Linked DNA regions of Homo sapiens: region 2 is linked to region 1. The links are contacts of gene promoters, found by promoter capture Hi-C in blood cells and fetal thymus (Javierre and others, 2016). All regions are on one chromosome and are shown on one strand. Each heading gives the region's core, a stretch centred on a gene start or on the middle of the fragment in contact. The rest is flanking DNA. Distances are from core to core; before and after follow the strand shown. Region 1 holds the start of CYB5A (cytochrome b5 type A). Region 2 has its middle 49 kb from the start of TIMM21.

The links. The method cuts DNA at HindIII sites, captures the fragments that hold promoters and counts their contacts. A CHiCAGO score of 5 or more calls a contact.
Region 2: a contact is called between a fragment that was not itself captured here and the fragment with the promoter of CYB5A in region 1, in 2 of 17 cell types (M2 macrophages and M0 macrophages). The highest score is 5.5, in M2 macrophages.

The regions. Positions count from the first base shown.
Region 1 is chr18:74,288,980-74,296,111 of GRCh38, reverse strand. CYB5A (cytochrome b5 type A) reads left to right here and starts at 4,149. Exons shown (of 5, transcript NM_148923.4): 1 at 4,149-4,365. The coding sequence starts at 4,237. RefSeq lists enhancers at 3,061-3,230, 3,590-3,649, 3,939-4,108, 4,188-4,357, 4,963-5,570. The HindIII fragment of the contact is 14,442 bases long and covers 1-7,132 here.
Region 2 is chr18:74,194,127-74,200,568 of GRCh38, reverse strand. No RefSeq gene overlaps it. Among named protein-coding and RNA genes, the nearest start is that of TIMM21, 49 kb to the right of the region's middle. RefSeq lists an enhancer at 2,312-2,968. The HindIII fragment of the contact is 1,986 bases long and covers 1,283-3,268 here.

The sequences.
Region 1 (7,132 bases), core at 2,900-5,399:
GTGAGGGCCCAGGTTAAGACAATGAGTTTGGCTTGCTGAGAGGTAGTGGAGGGGGGCAGAGTGGTAGCCTCAGTGATAGATGTGGAAGACACTATAGCATAGCCTGCCTTTGCCAGTGATTGGCGATTGGGCCTGGAAGAACTATCATCAATAAACCAAGCGTGGTCTGGGTGGGGAACAGGAAAGAGGTAATATGGGGAAATGGGGAGAATGAATGGTTTCGTTAGGATGGCAAAACCAGGTATCTAAAGGCAAAAGTACCTAACCATGCCTAGGAAGGAAAGGAGTTGTTTTGTAGAAGGGGTTGGGGTTTGGGAGATTAGCTGGACATGATTAGCAGGGAGAGCACATGTATTTTTATGAAGAATTATGCCGAGATAGGTAACGGATGAGGAAGAAATTTGGGCTTGACTGAAGTAATGGGGGCTGTCCCTGAAGCCTTGCGCCAGTACAGCCCAGGTAAGTTGCTGAGGCTGATGGGTGTCAGGGTCAGTCTAAGTGAAAGCGAAGAGAGGCTGGGATGAAAGGTGCAAAGGAATAGTAAAGAAAGCATGTTTGAGATCCAGAACAGAATGGGTTATGGAGGGGTAAAATGGGGGAATTGTAAGGAGAGTTTATAGGCTTTATAAGGCCATGCTGTAACAAGTGAGTGATAACAGGCTTTAATTCTTTTAAAGCGTGCTGTGGGATGGGATATTGGTGTTGAGCAGGGTAAGGGTGATTAGGTTTTAATGGGATGGTAAGGGGTGCATGATCAGTTGCCAAGGAGGGAGTAGAGATGTCTCATACTTGTGGATTAAGGTGAGGAGATACAAGGAAAATATGTGAAGGAGGCTTTGAACTGGGAAAAAGGGTGACAATGAGGTGTGGCTGTAGCCTAGGAATAGTCAGGGAAGCAGATAATTTAGTTAAAATGCCTCGACCTAATAAGGGAACTGGGCAGGCGGGAATAACTAAAAAGGAGCGCATAAAAGAATACTGTCCCAGTTGGCACCAGAATTGGGGAGTTTTAAGAGGTTTAGAAGCCTGGCCGTCAATACCCACAACTGTTATGGAGGCAAGGGAAAGAGGCCCTTGAAAAGAAGGTAATGTGCAGTGGATAGCCTCCGTATTAAGAAGGGGATGGACTCATCCTCCACTGTAAGAGTTACCTAAAGCATCTATCATGGTCCAGGAGGCTTCCAAGGCGATCGGGCAGTGTCAGTCTTCAGCCACTAAGCCGAGAAGATCTGGGAAGGAGTCAGTCAGTGAGCCTTGCGCCAGAGTTCCAGGAACTCTAGGAATGGCTGCCAGGTGAGTTGGACAGTCCAATTTCCAGTGGGGTCCTGCACAGATGGGACATTGCTTAGGAGGAATCCGGGCTGCAGACATTCCTTGGCCCAGTGGCCACATTTTCAGTACTTGAAGCAAGATCCTGGGGTAGGAGGTCTTGGAAGAACGCCTGGCCACTGCGGTTTAGGCGTTTTGAAATTCTTGTATGCTGGAGATGTGGCTGAAGTTTCTCTCACAGCAGAGGCAAGTAATTGCCACTCTTCTCTATTATTGTACACCTTGAAGGCAAGGTTAAGTCCTGTTGTGGGGTTTGAGGGCTGGAATCCAATTTTTGGAGCTTTTTCTAACGTCAGGAGTGGGTTGGGTAATAAAATGCATACTGAGAATAAGACGGCCTTCTGGCCTCTCTGGGTCTAGGGCGGTAAGGCGTTTAAGGGTTGTTGCCAAACGGGCCATGAACTGGGCTGGGGTTTTATATTTGATGAAAAAGAGCCTAACTGTTTTGGGAGAGGTCGGATAAAGAAAACAGGAGCAACAACCTTGACTATGCCTTTAGCTCCAGCCACCTCTTTAAGAGGAAATTGTTGGGCAGGTGGGGTAGGGCTAGTCAAGGAACAAAACCATAAGCCGGACTAGGTGTGAGGAGGGGAAGTGATAGAAGGATTATAGAGTGGGGGAACAGAGGCTGCGGAAGAATTGGGACCTGGCTCAGCCCGGCGAGCAGGGGAGAGGTCAGATGGCTCCACAGAAAAGGAGGATTCAAAGTACTCAGAGCTTGGGGTGGAGACCGAAGGAACACACAGGAGAGAAAGAAGAAAGATTTGGGATGAGTCGCATTGGGAGCAGAGACTAGGGCGGGACTGATGTGTAGAAGAATGCCTGGATGTCAGGAACCTCAGACCATTTGCCCATTTTACGACAAGAATTATCTAGATCTTGTAGGGTGGAGAAATTGAAAGTGCCATTTTCTGGCTATTTGGAACCACTGTCAAGTTTGTATTGGGGTCAGGTGGTATTGCAGAAGAAAATAAGGTGTTTAGGTTTTAGGTCAGGCGAGAGTTGAAGAGGTTTTAAGTTCTTGAGAACACAGGCTAAGGGAGAAGAAGGAGGAATGGAGGGTGGAAGGTTGCCCATAGTGAAGGAGGCAAGCCCAGAGAAAAGAGAGGGCAGAGACACAGGGGGGGTCGGTACTTGACACCAAGGTGAAGGATCAAGGCAGGTGTCCCTGTGGTGATCAGACACCTCTGAAATGTGGGTGAATAATCAGGCAGGCATCCCTGCAGTGATTAAACACCAAGGGAAGACTGTCTTCTCGAGTCCGTGACCAGTGCCGGAGTTTTGGGTTCACGGATAAAACACATCTCCTCTGTCTCTATCAGAAAAGGAAAGGAACTGAAATTAAGGGAAGGGATAGATTGAAGGGTGGTGCCAAAATTGAAAGGAGAAAGAGGTTGAGAGATAGTGAGAGAGGTTGGAGAAGAGAGTAAAAAGAAGCTGCTTACCCAATTTAAAATTGGTGAGATGTTCCTGGAGCTGGTTGGTCTGAGGACCCGAGGTTGTAGGTGGATCTTTCTCACAGAGCAAAGAGCAGGAGGACAGGTGACTGTCTTATCAGTTAAGGCAGGAACCGGCCATTTTCACTTCTTTTGTGATTCTTCAGTTGCTTCAGCATTTTCACTTCTTTTGTGATTCTTCAGTTGCTTCAGGCCATCTGGATGTATATGTGCAGGCTTGGGCTCAGAGGCCTGACATGCGTGTGTTTTGTGTTTTTCTGGATAGGCATGCATTCCTATGGAGGAGGTAAGCAGGGGGAAGGGAGCTCACATTCATCAGACACCTAGTATGTGTAGGAACCTTCTGCATCCCTGGAAGGATGGATGACCCCACATGTGAAACCTCTCGTGTGGTTCTTTTTGGAATTAACTACCATTGCTGAAAAGGGCCTACATAAAATATCAAATTTTAACATGCTGGAATTTTTCTTTATTTTTTTTCTCCTTCAAACATTTGTAGCTCTTTATATGTGGTATTTCCTCTGTGTCAGAAGGGAAAGAGGGTGCCCTTTGGGGAAGTTCTCTTCCAGACTCCTAGAAGAGAATCTGATTTACCTTAAATGCACAAACAAGGCCTTGCCATGTCACTGGCCAACCGCAGACAAACTACTTCAGTCACAGAAATAATTTGGACACTTTTGCTTTTTAAGGAAAAGATGATTTCCCTGGATTTTTTTCCTGTGAGGACGAGGCATTCCAAAACCCCAGCGGGGTCAGGCACAGTTCGCCAACTTTATGTTTTGGGGGGCAGCGCATTTGCTTCCCGAAGTGAGTTGCGAAACCGTTTTCTAGCGCGCACGGGGCTTTCATCTCTTCCGTGCATGCGAACGGCTTTCCGAGATGCCCCCTTTATGGGCTTGGCCATCGCTACTTTTGTTACAAATTAACGTCTGGGACTCGGACTGCTGCCAATAGGAAACTCCCGCGATTCGCTGCCTAGTTCGCCGCCCTCACAAGACTGGACTCTGCACAGGCCATCCATGCCCGCTGGTGCACCTCGCTCTCTCGCACGCTTAACCCGCGGGGACGCCCCCGACCTCCCACCTCAGCCCTCGCCACAGTTAGTCCCGCCCTTCCGCGCAGACTCCGTGGAGTCCTGTCACGCTCTCCGCGCGCTGCGGCAGCCGGGAGATTGTGAAGGGCACCTCCGGCAGCCAATTAACACCCGCATACTGGGCGGGACCACGCTTGGGCAGGCGGAGGGGGTCGACCGAAGGCGGGGACTTTTGAGTGACAAGGATGATGGCCAACCGTCGGAGGCCCTTCTACTGCGCCCCGCCCCTGAGCCGGCCGCCCAGCCCCCAGTGGGGTTCCCGGCGCGGGGAATGTCCCGGGTGGAGCTGGCTGAGTCGCGCGCTCTGCTCCACCCGACGGGGCTGTGTGTGCTGGGCCTGGCTCGCGGCGAACCGAGATGGCAGAGCAGTCGGACGAGGCCGTGAAGTACTACACCCTAGAGGAGATTCAGAAGCACAACCACAGCAAGAGCACCTGGCTGATCCTGCACCACAAGGTGTACGATTTGACCAAATTTCTGGAAGAGGTGAGTTGGGGATGAGCGGCTTGGGGCGCAGGGAGCGTGGGCCGGGTTTGGGGGTTCACTGGCATGACCTGTCTTTCGCGGCCCGGAGTCCGCATACCTACGCCTAGGCGCGCCCCCCGAGTTCGCTCACCTGCGCGTGTACGCCTGGGCGCGCTTCCGAGTCCGCACACCTGCGCGTGCAAGCCTGGGCGCCCCCCACCGCCCCAAGTCCGCACACCTGCGCGCTCACACCTGGGAGCGCTCCCCGAGTCCGCACACCTGCTAGTGTACACCTGGGCGCTCTCCTCGAGTCCGCACACCTGCGCGTGCACACCTGGGGAGCGCTCCCTGAGTCCGCACACCTGCGCGTGTACACCTGGGAGCGCTCCCCGAATCCGTACACCTGCGCGTGCACACCTGGGAGCGCCCTGCGCGGCGGCATCCTCGCTAGGTGGTGCTGGAGCAGCCTTCCGGGGATAGCGCGCAGCCATGCGGGGGATTTAAATGATCCCTTTCTCCCTTGAGTTTGAATAGAAGGGTGTCCTTCCAGGACCGGCGGCATTCCCGCAGTGGCCGGCTGGAGACCACCCACCCCGAGAGCTGCGGATCCCGCCGGAGGGGACCCCAAGTGCGGAGGTCGGGTGTGGTCCGGGCCTGCGCTTCCCGCGGCAGCCACTGGCCGACCTTGCGGTCCACACCCACTCGCGTTCGCGTTCACCTGGAAGAGGCTCGGTGTTAATTAACCTTTTCCAGTCACGCCTTGGCAGCCAGGTGCCGTGCTTGACTCCTGAGACCGCGGTGTGTGGCTGGAGCAAGAACACAGAGGCCAGGCAGAGCAGCGGACGTTCTGCGTGGGACTCGCCCCTAACAGCTTTGGAAGGTGTAATAGGAAACGTTGGTTAACTTGAAGACATTCCTTTGATAAGATTCTTTGCATTCGGTTATAATTTTTGCCGCACACGCTAAGGGGCGCTTTTGGTGATTGTCTTAGATCCTCTGGAAGTGTTTTACTACTTTTGGGGGAGTCTCAATCATAAATCTTAACGCATGCTCACGCCCCCTCCCAATAATGAGAAGGTTTAGTGATGGGAATTTTTTACATAGTCGGGGAGCAGGGGACAAAAATAGATGCCTGGTCTGAGCTGGATCACAGTTTATATCAGAGGACTTTGTTTTTGCAGAAAATGTTAAAATCAAAAGGCCTGTTTTAAAAAATGAGGCTGGGCCAAGCACGGTGGCTCACACATGTAATCCCAGCACTTTGGGAGGCTGAGGCGGGTGGATCACTTGAGTCTAGGAGTTCGAGACCAGCTTGACCAACATGGCGAAACCCCATCTCTAACCAAAATACCAAAATTAGCCAGGCCTGGCGGGGCACGCCTGTAGTCCCAGCTACTCGGGAGGCTGAGACAGGAGAATCCCTTAAACCTGGGAGGCAGAGGTTGCAGTGAGCCGAAATCGCACCACTTTGCTCCAGCCTGGGGGACAGAGTGAGACTCTGTCTCTAAATAAATAAATAAAATTAAATAATAAGGCTGGAGTTGATGTTTATTGGTAAGGTATTTCACTCTGGAGCAGTGCCCGAAGATAAAGTCATGTTACCATTTAGTAAGGAGGGGTTTATGTTGGGAAATCAGAGCTGACCTGTCCTCTCCCTCCTGCCCGGCTGCAGATCTTGTCATATAACATCAATTCTCATTAACTCTAAATGTGGAATTTTAAGATACAGTGTGTGCTTTGTCTATTTGTGCTTATAGAAGAAGTAGCATAAGAGAATATTAGGATATTTTATATTATGAAGCATTTTCTTCTTTTCTTGTCTTCTCCTAAAGCGAGTTTTTTCAACCCTGGCACTGTTGACATTTTGGGCCAGCCGATCTTTGTTGTGGCGTCTGTCCTGGGCATTGTAGGATATTGAGCCACCTCCCTGAGTTCTACCCACTAGATGACCGGTACCACCACCTCCCCTATTTTTTTTTTTTTTTTTTTTTGAGACAGAGTTTTGCTCTTGTGGCCCAGGCTGGAGTGCAATGGTGTGATCTCGACTCACTGCAACCTCTGCCTCCTGGGTTCAACCAATTCTCCTGCCTCAGCCTCCCAAGTAGCTGGGATTACAGGCGCACACCATCACGCCCAGCTAATTTTTGTATTTTTAATAGAGACAGGGTTTCAACATGTTGGCCAAGTTGGTCTCGAACTGCTGATCTCAGGTGATCCACCCACCTTAGCCTCCCAAAGTGCTGGGATTACAGGCGTGAGCCACTGCTCCCAGCCCTACCTCCCCTATTTATAGCAACCCAAAATGTCTCCAGATATTGCCAGAGGTCCCCTAGGGCACATAATCTCTCCAACTTGAGAATTACTAAGGTTACTGTGCATGACTTTAGGGGTAGATTTTCAGAGACGATAATAGGGAAGTGAAGATTATTGTTAAAATGTACTCAAAACTATTTACTTTCACATTTCATTCCTGTGAGTCAGGAAAGGAGGGATTGTGCAAAAAATTTTCCGAGAAAAACTGAGAGATGAGAGCAAGCTCTTGAGTGGGTAAATTAGCTGAAAACAAATTTCTTTATTTTTTCTTACTCAAAGTTTTTGTGGAGAATGCATCTCAAATAAAATGAACAAGAGGGTGGCTGACCCCTGGAACGGCTAGGAGGATGGCGTGAGTGAGGAGGCTGGGGTCTGGGAGAAACACAAGGAGTTAGTTTGGTTTTGGTCCTGTTGACTTTAAGAGGTTGGAGGGATCTTCAGGCATTGCGAGAACTGCATGCGTTTCTGCCTCCAC
Region 2 (6,442 bases), core at 1,026-3,525, 94 kb after region 1:
GTCCTTCTCAGGTGCCCTCCCGGGAAAGCTGGCAGCAAAATTATTTTTATCCCAAATAACTAAGGAAGCCGAGGTTTTGTGATTGGCTTCCCACCTCCTTTTCTGTTCTTTGTGGTAGTCATCTGAGCAACTTACACACACTGCATCACAGTTTTCCTCTCCCATGAACTGAAAAACATTTAATTTTTATTTTTTTCCCATGGATTTTGGCTAAATCAAGCACTCTTCACACCAGGCACATAAGAAGAAAATAAGGAAGCTGATCCATTGGAGTTTAGTGAATGAAGAAATCGTGCCTTCTGTCCATGCCCCACACTCCCAGCCCCCCGCCCACAACGGAGAACACACAAGCACCAGTGCCCCACACCACCCAGGGTAGAATGTGGCCATCGCAGGATGAGAGGCTCCTGTGGGAAGGAGAGCCCGAGGAGGCTGGGTGGAGCTGCACCTCGTTAGCCTTCATCTGGACAGTTTCTAAGGGACTCCCTCCTTGGGCCCATCCTGCCTGGCTCACGTCTCCTCTTCCCAAGGACGGGGCTTCGCTCCTTCATAGTCTGGCTGGGAAGTGAGAGAGCCATAACCCCATGGACACAACCTGAGACTTGATTGTTGGGAGACAAGATGATTTTACAGAAACATGTTTTATTTTTTTTCAAATGACTTTGTTGCAAAGTCCCCGCTTTTTTTTTCAAGAGATGGGGTCTCACCCTGTCACCGAGGCTGGAGTGCAGTGGCACCATCATAGCTCACTGCAGTCTCAACTCCTGGGCTCAAGCCATCCTCCTGTCTCAGCCTCCAGAGTAGCTGGGACTACAGGTGCCTGTGACACCAGGCCCAGCTAATTTTTAGTTTTTTTTGTAGAGATAGGGTTGCTAATTTTTAATTTTTTTGTAGAGATAGGGTCTTGCTATGTTGCCCAGGCTGGTCTTGAACCCCTGGCCTCAAGCAGTCCTCCCTCCTGGGCCTCCCAAAGTTCTGGGGTTACAGGTGTGAGCCACCGCACCTGGCCCAATTTATTAATTGCCCCCAACATATCACGGGCATGACGTTTTCCTCTTTCCCAGGGAGAAGATGATGATAATAACAGTTGCTAACACTCTCTGAGCTATATGCCAGGTACCATTATGAGTGCTGTGTATCCAGTAACTCGTTTTTATCCTTGAAAAAGGATTTTGAGGAAAGGAGTGTACGTGTCCGTGTCCTTGTTTCACAGATGAGAAAACAGCTACAAAGAGATTCAGTTACTTATTTAAAGTCTCATAGTTAATAAGGACTCCAAGCTTCAAGCTCTTCACCTCCACTAGGCTGCTGATGTAGCAAACTTCCCAATTTTTCTTATCCTTATCACCCAAGGTATAATAATTTCAAATGAACTTTTAGAAAGTGTCTACAGTCTTGGGTTTTCCAGTAGTTTCTGGCATGGCTTGTTAACCCGCTGGCCATCACTCGTAACCTCCCCACCCCTGACCTGGGCTTTGAAAGCGTTTTCTTCCTCCTTTGCACTGTGGCCTGAGAAGCCTCCCTCCAGCAGTTCACCCGGACCTCAGGTCCATCCTGTCCCCACCTCCAGCTCCCTTACCCAGACCTCAGGCCCATCCTGTCCCCACCTCCAGCTCCCTCACCCGGACCTCAGGTCCATCCTGTCCCCACCTCCAGCACCCGGACCTCAGGTCCATCCTATCCCCACCTCCAGCTCCCTGTCAGAGCGCTGCTAAGTCCTGGGGCCTATTGCCATCTCATAGGCAGTCTGAGTACTTCATGGAAGCCCTATTGTCTTCCATTTCCGACCCTGTCCCATCTTGGCAGGATCTGTTGGCCAGATGATGCTGGCCTCCCATGTTGTACACCCAGGAGCCACTTCCTGCCATGCCCAGCCACTGTGACTGAGTCTGCTCTCCCCTGAGCCACCAGGGCACCTGAGCAACATCCGGACACCTGAGGCCTCAGGGCACCACAGCTGTGCTGGGTGCAGTGCGTCTGTGCCACCTCTGTTGTCTGAGCACTGAGGGGCACAGGGCACAGCCCATCTGCATGGACATGCTGCTCCCTAGGACTTAGGATTTGGATGTAAGGACCAGGACCTGGAGGTGGCTCTTGGAGCTGGCCATGTCATCCAAGTGGACCCTCCTTTGGGGATACCCTCATTCTCTGTTTGCCCTCTCTTCCTGCTCATCCTCTTCTAGCTCTGAGTCCCATCAACAGCTCCTGTTCCAACCTCGTGCCCTTCTGCCTGAAGCCTGAGCAGTGGAGCCAGGCCCCACCATGGCCTGACCTGCAGGCTCTGGCATTGTCCCAGCGCACTGTGTCCGGGAGCTGGACGTCCCCACCTGGCATGGCCCCAGTGGCTGAGCATGGGCTTGCCCCCACCCACAACCTGATTGCTCTCTTTCCCTCTGCCTCAACCCTGGGCAGGGACCAGGGGGACTGAACCACTGCCCCCGCCCCGGCCGAGCCTCCTCAGCCCCCTGGCTCTGACTGCTGCAGGCAAAGCTAGGATGCATGTTGCCCAGGGTTTACAGGTCATTCTCTGCATCCAGCTGACTTATGCCACTGGCTTACAATCCCGGGAAACTCCTGGGGGTGGTGGTGCCGAGCCTAGGTTCCCCTGGGCTCAGGGAAGCTGGGTTAATCTCCGGTGAGCTCCATGCCCAGGGCATGGGGAAGTGGCACAGAGAGCAGCCTCTGGATCGTTGGCCTGGTAGGGATTTCCGGGTTCATGTTCTGCCCTTTGTTTAATGTCCCTTTCAGCTCTCCAGTTATGCAAAACAGAGGAGCCATACCCCACTTCACAGAAACAGGAGGCCCACAGGCATGCACCAGGAGAGCTTCCTGCCCTACTGGCTTCTCCAAGTGGGAGGGGAGGAGCATTTCCGGGACCAGGCTATATACAATGTGGCTTTTGGAGAAAATACATTTAAAAAACTCTTTCTCAAATTAAAATATATCTTTTAAAGTGTTTTTTCTTTTTTTTTAGACAGAGTCTCCCTCTGTCACCCAGGCTGGAGTGCAATGGTGTGAACTCGGCTCAGTGCAAGCTCTGCCTCCCAGGTTAATGCCATTCTCCTGTCTCAGCCTCCCGAGTAGCTGGGACTACAGGTGCCCGCCACTGCTCCTGGCTAACTTTTTGTATTTTTTTTTTTTTTTAGTAGAGACAGGGTTTCACCGTGTTAGCCAGGATGGTCTTGATCTCCTGACCTCATGATCCGCCTACCTCGGCCTCCCAGAGTGCTGGGATTACAGGAGTGAAAGGGTTTTAGCAAATTAAGCTTCTTATGGGGGAAAAACATCAGGGGAATGTTTCATAGTCCCTTTGAGATTTCTAATGCACTTAGGTCTTGGGGATTTTGTACTCACTTTCTTTTTGCTTTTTTCTCTGATAAATCCAGTGATGAACAAAATATTCCCTTTGGGAGAGAGTGGGAATGATTTCAAACTTCCAACATTTCAAGTAATAAACACTTTAAGAGTATATCAATTGCTTCACTTTTCCCATTAAATGCATGTTACTTTACATACTGGCCATATCCCTTTTGTGCAAAATACAACACAAGTTTAGCTGAATTCTCTCCCTCCCCCAAAGAGTGAATTACTCCCTTACCCATGCTGCCTGTCCCTGTGCAAATGTTGGCTCTGGTACTTGTAGTTATTTGTGCTTCCCATTCATCTATTCTTGAGGACAAGGATTGAGTCTTTTTTCAAATTTGTGGCCTCATTGTCTAGCACAAAGGCTTATGGAATGCAAACTGTAATATTTAAATATTTGTTGAATACATGGAGGCTGTGTCCAAATTTTTTAAAATTTAATTGGACTTACTAGGGGATATCGAAATGTAAATAAATGCTATATAAAATATATCTTAAAGAGACAAATACCTTTAAAAGGATATTCTAAAGGAAGAATGGTCTCAAAAGAATGCCTTTATAGTGTAAATAATTATCAACTTAGTTAATATCATAAACCTGGGTGGATCAATTCATTATGGTGGTGTCGGTTGCCCTCTAGTGGCCATGAAGGGGTAAGGCGTCATTTAGGCTCTGAAGACCCTGAATTTCTGTTACGATGGCTGAGAACCAGGAAGCCTTCTCACCCACCCAGCAGAGGGAATTGGTTTGGAGACAGAACAAAACGACAAAAGGCAAACAGTAGAATCAACTCAACGATACCTGGTTCTTTCATATGGAATACTTAACATTCTTCCTCTATTTACAAAGACAAACAAAGAGCCAAAGCCTCAGGTATGAGCAAATGAAGGTTAGGGCTCCCTCTTTTGATGAAACGCATTAATCTACCATTCTGAGCATGTTTGCTGCCGTGTACTGAAAAGTTAAACGCATGGCAGGAAGGAATAGAATCAGTTCTGTCTTCTTTATCTTCATTACTCCTCTCTCCTTTGGATCAATGGAAGACGCAAAGACAAGATGTAGAACTCTGTATGTTTCAGAATACTATGAACGTTTTTGGTTCCATTGCCCATTTTTGGTATGGTGGAATGATTTTGCTATTCTAAGCAGCATATAAATCTGGATTTGGGAAAGTTGTATACCTGGATTCCTCAGCAATGGTTTATTTTCTCTCAGGGCTCTGGCACTCGGGGAGGCAAGAGGAGGACTCACTTTGGGCACCCAATTTAAAGGAAGTGACAAAAACTCAGTCATCAAGATAAATTATACACACACACACACACACACACACACACACACACACACATATATATATATATATATATATATATATATATATATATATACAGAGAGAGAGAGAGAGAGAGAGAGAGAGAGAGAGAGACAGAGTCTCGCTCTGTTGCCCAGGCTGGAGTGCAGTGACGCAATCTTGGCTCACTGCAACCCCTGTCTCCCGAGCTCAAACAATTCTCCTGACTCAGCCTCCCAAGTAGCTGGGATGACAGGCGCACACCACCACCTGGTTAATTTTTGTATTCTTAGCAGAGACAGGATTTCACCATGTTGGCCAGGCTAGTCTCGAACCCCTGACTTCAAATGATCCACCTGCTTTGGCCTCCCAAAATGCTGGGATTACAGGCATGAGCCACTGCACCTGGCCTGGATAAATAATACTTTAAAGAAATATTTTTTAAAATCAAAATCCATGCAGAATATCCAGGATTAACAAAATGTCAACACTTGCAGTAAAGACACGATCAGAGATACTGGTTTTTCCTTTGCCCCAGTCTCCACTGTGGTCTGGCATGGCACTGTTTCCTCTTTGCCCAAAATGAGCTTGTTAAGAGAGCAACATTGGCCGGGCATTGTTGCTCACATCTGTGATCCCAGGACTTTGGGAAGCCGGAGTGGGAGGATTACTTGATACCAGGAGTTTAAGACCAGTCTGGGCAACAGAGTGAGACCCCGTCTCTACAAAAAAAAAAAAAAAAAAAAAAAAATAGCTGGGCGTGGTGGCACGTACTTGTAGTCCAGCTACTTGGGAGGCTGAGGTGGGAGGATGGCTTGAGCCTGGGAGGCCAAGGCATCAGTGAGTCGAGATGGCACCACTGTACTCCAACCCAGGCGACAGAGCAAGACCCTGTTGGGGGAAAAAGAGAGAGAGAGAGAGCAGTGCTTCTGTGTGGGTCAGAGCCCAGCCTCTGTAGCTGGGGGAGCTGGATTTTGAAACAGATGCTGCTGTTGCTTACTCAAGAACCTGATTCTTGGCAAAGTTCATACCTTATCTCATCATCATTGTGAATCCTTAGAAGCACATAGTCGTTCCTGGCTGGGTCAGGCAGATGAGATGAAAGGAGGAGGAGGGATTCTCAGTGTGAAAGACTCATCCCACTGCTGTTGGCTTTGAAGATGGAGGAAGGAGACCAAGAGCCCAGGAGTGTGGCAGCCTCTAGAAGTTGGGAATGGCCCCAGATGACAACCAGTGAGAAAGCAGTGACCTCAGTCCTACAATCTTGAGGAACTGAATTTGCCTGTAACCCAAATGAGCAAGGAAACAGATCCTTCCCAAGAGCCTGTAGTGAGTTTCTCAGCCCTGTGGACACCTTGATTCCTTTCCTTTCTGATCTTCTCCTCTTCTCATTCTACCATCTCCCTTAGCAGTCCCAGCCACTCCTCAGATGTTAATATTTCTATGCCACTTCCAAATCTTTTTGAAAGAAGAGATTTTCCAAGTCTTTGCCCATCTACAATGAAAAAATTCATTAAGGAATGTGAAGAACATTATTATTTCTTCTTACTATAATATTTCTTTTTTTCCTCAAAATGATTCTGACTTTAGGTGAGAGGTTTTCAACTATGATGAAGAGGCAGGGGAGGACATGTTATCTTTAAACTCCCCCCGGGATTTTCAGTGCTAAGGTGGCAGAACAGAGGACAGTGGTGCTGCCTCCTCCTCTCCAGGACTCCTCAGGCCACACTAAGGATTAGGTAGTAGCCAGTGGAGCAAGAGGGCCAGGGCCTGGAGGAAGCAGCTGCTGGT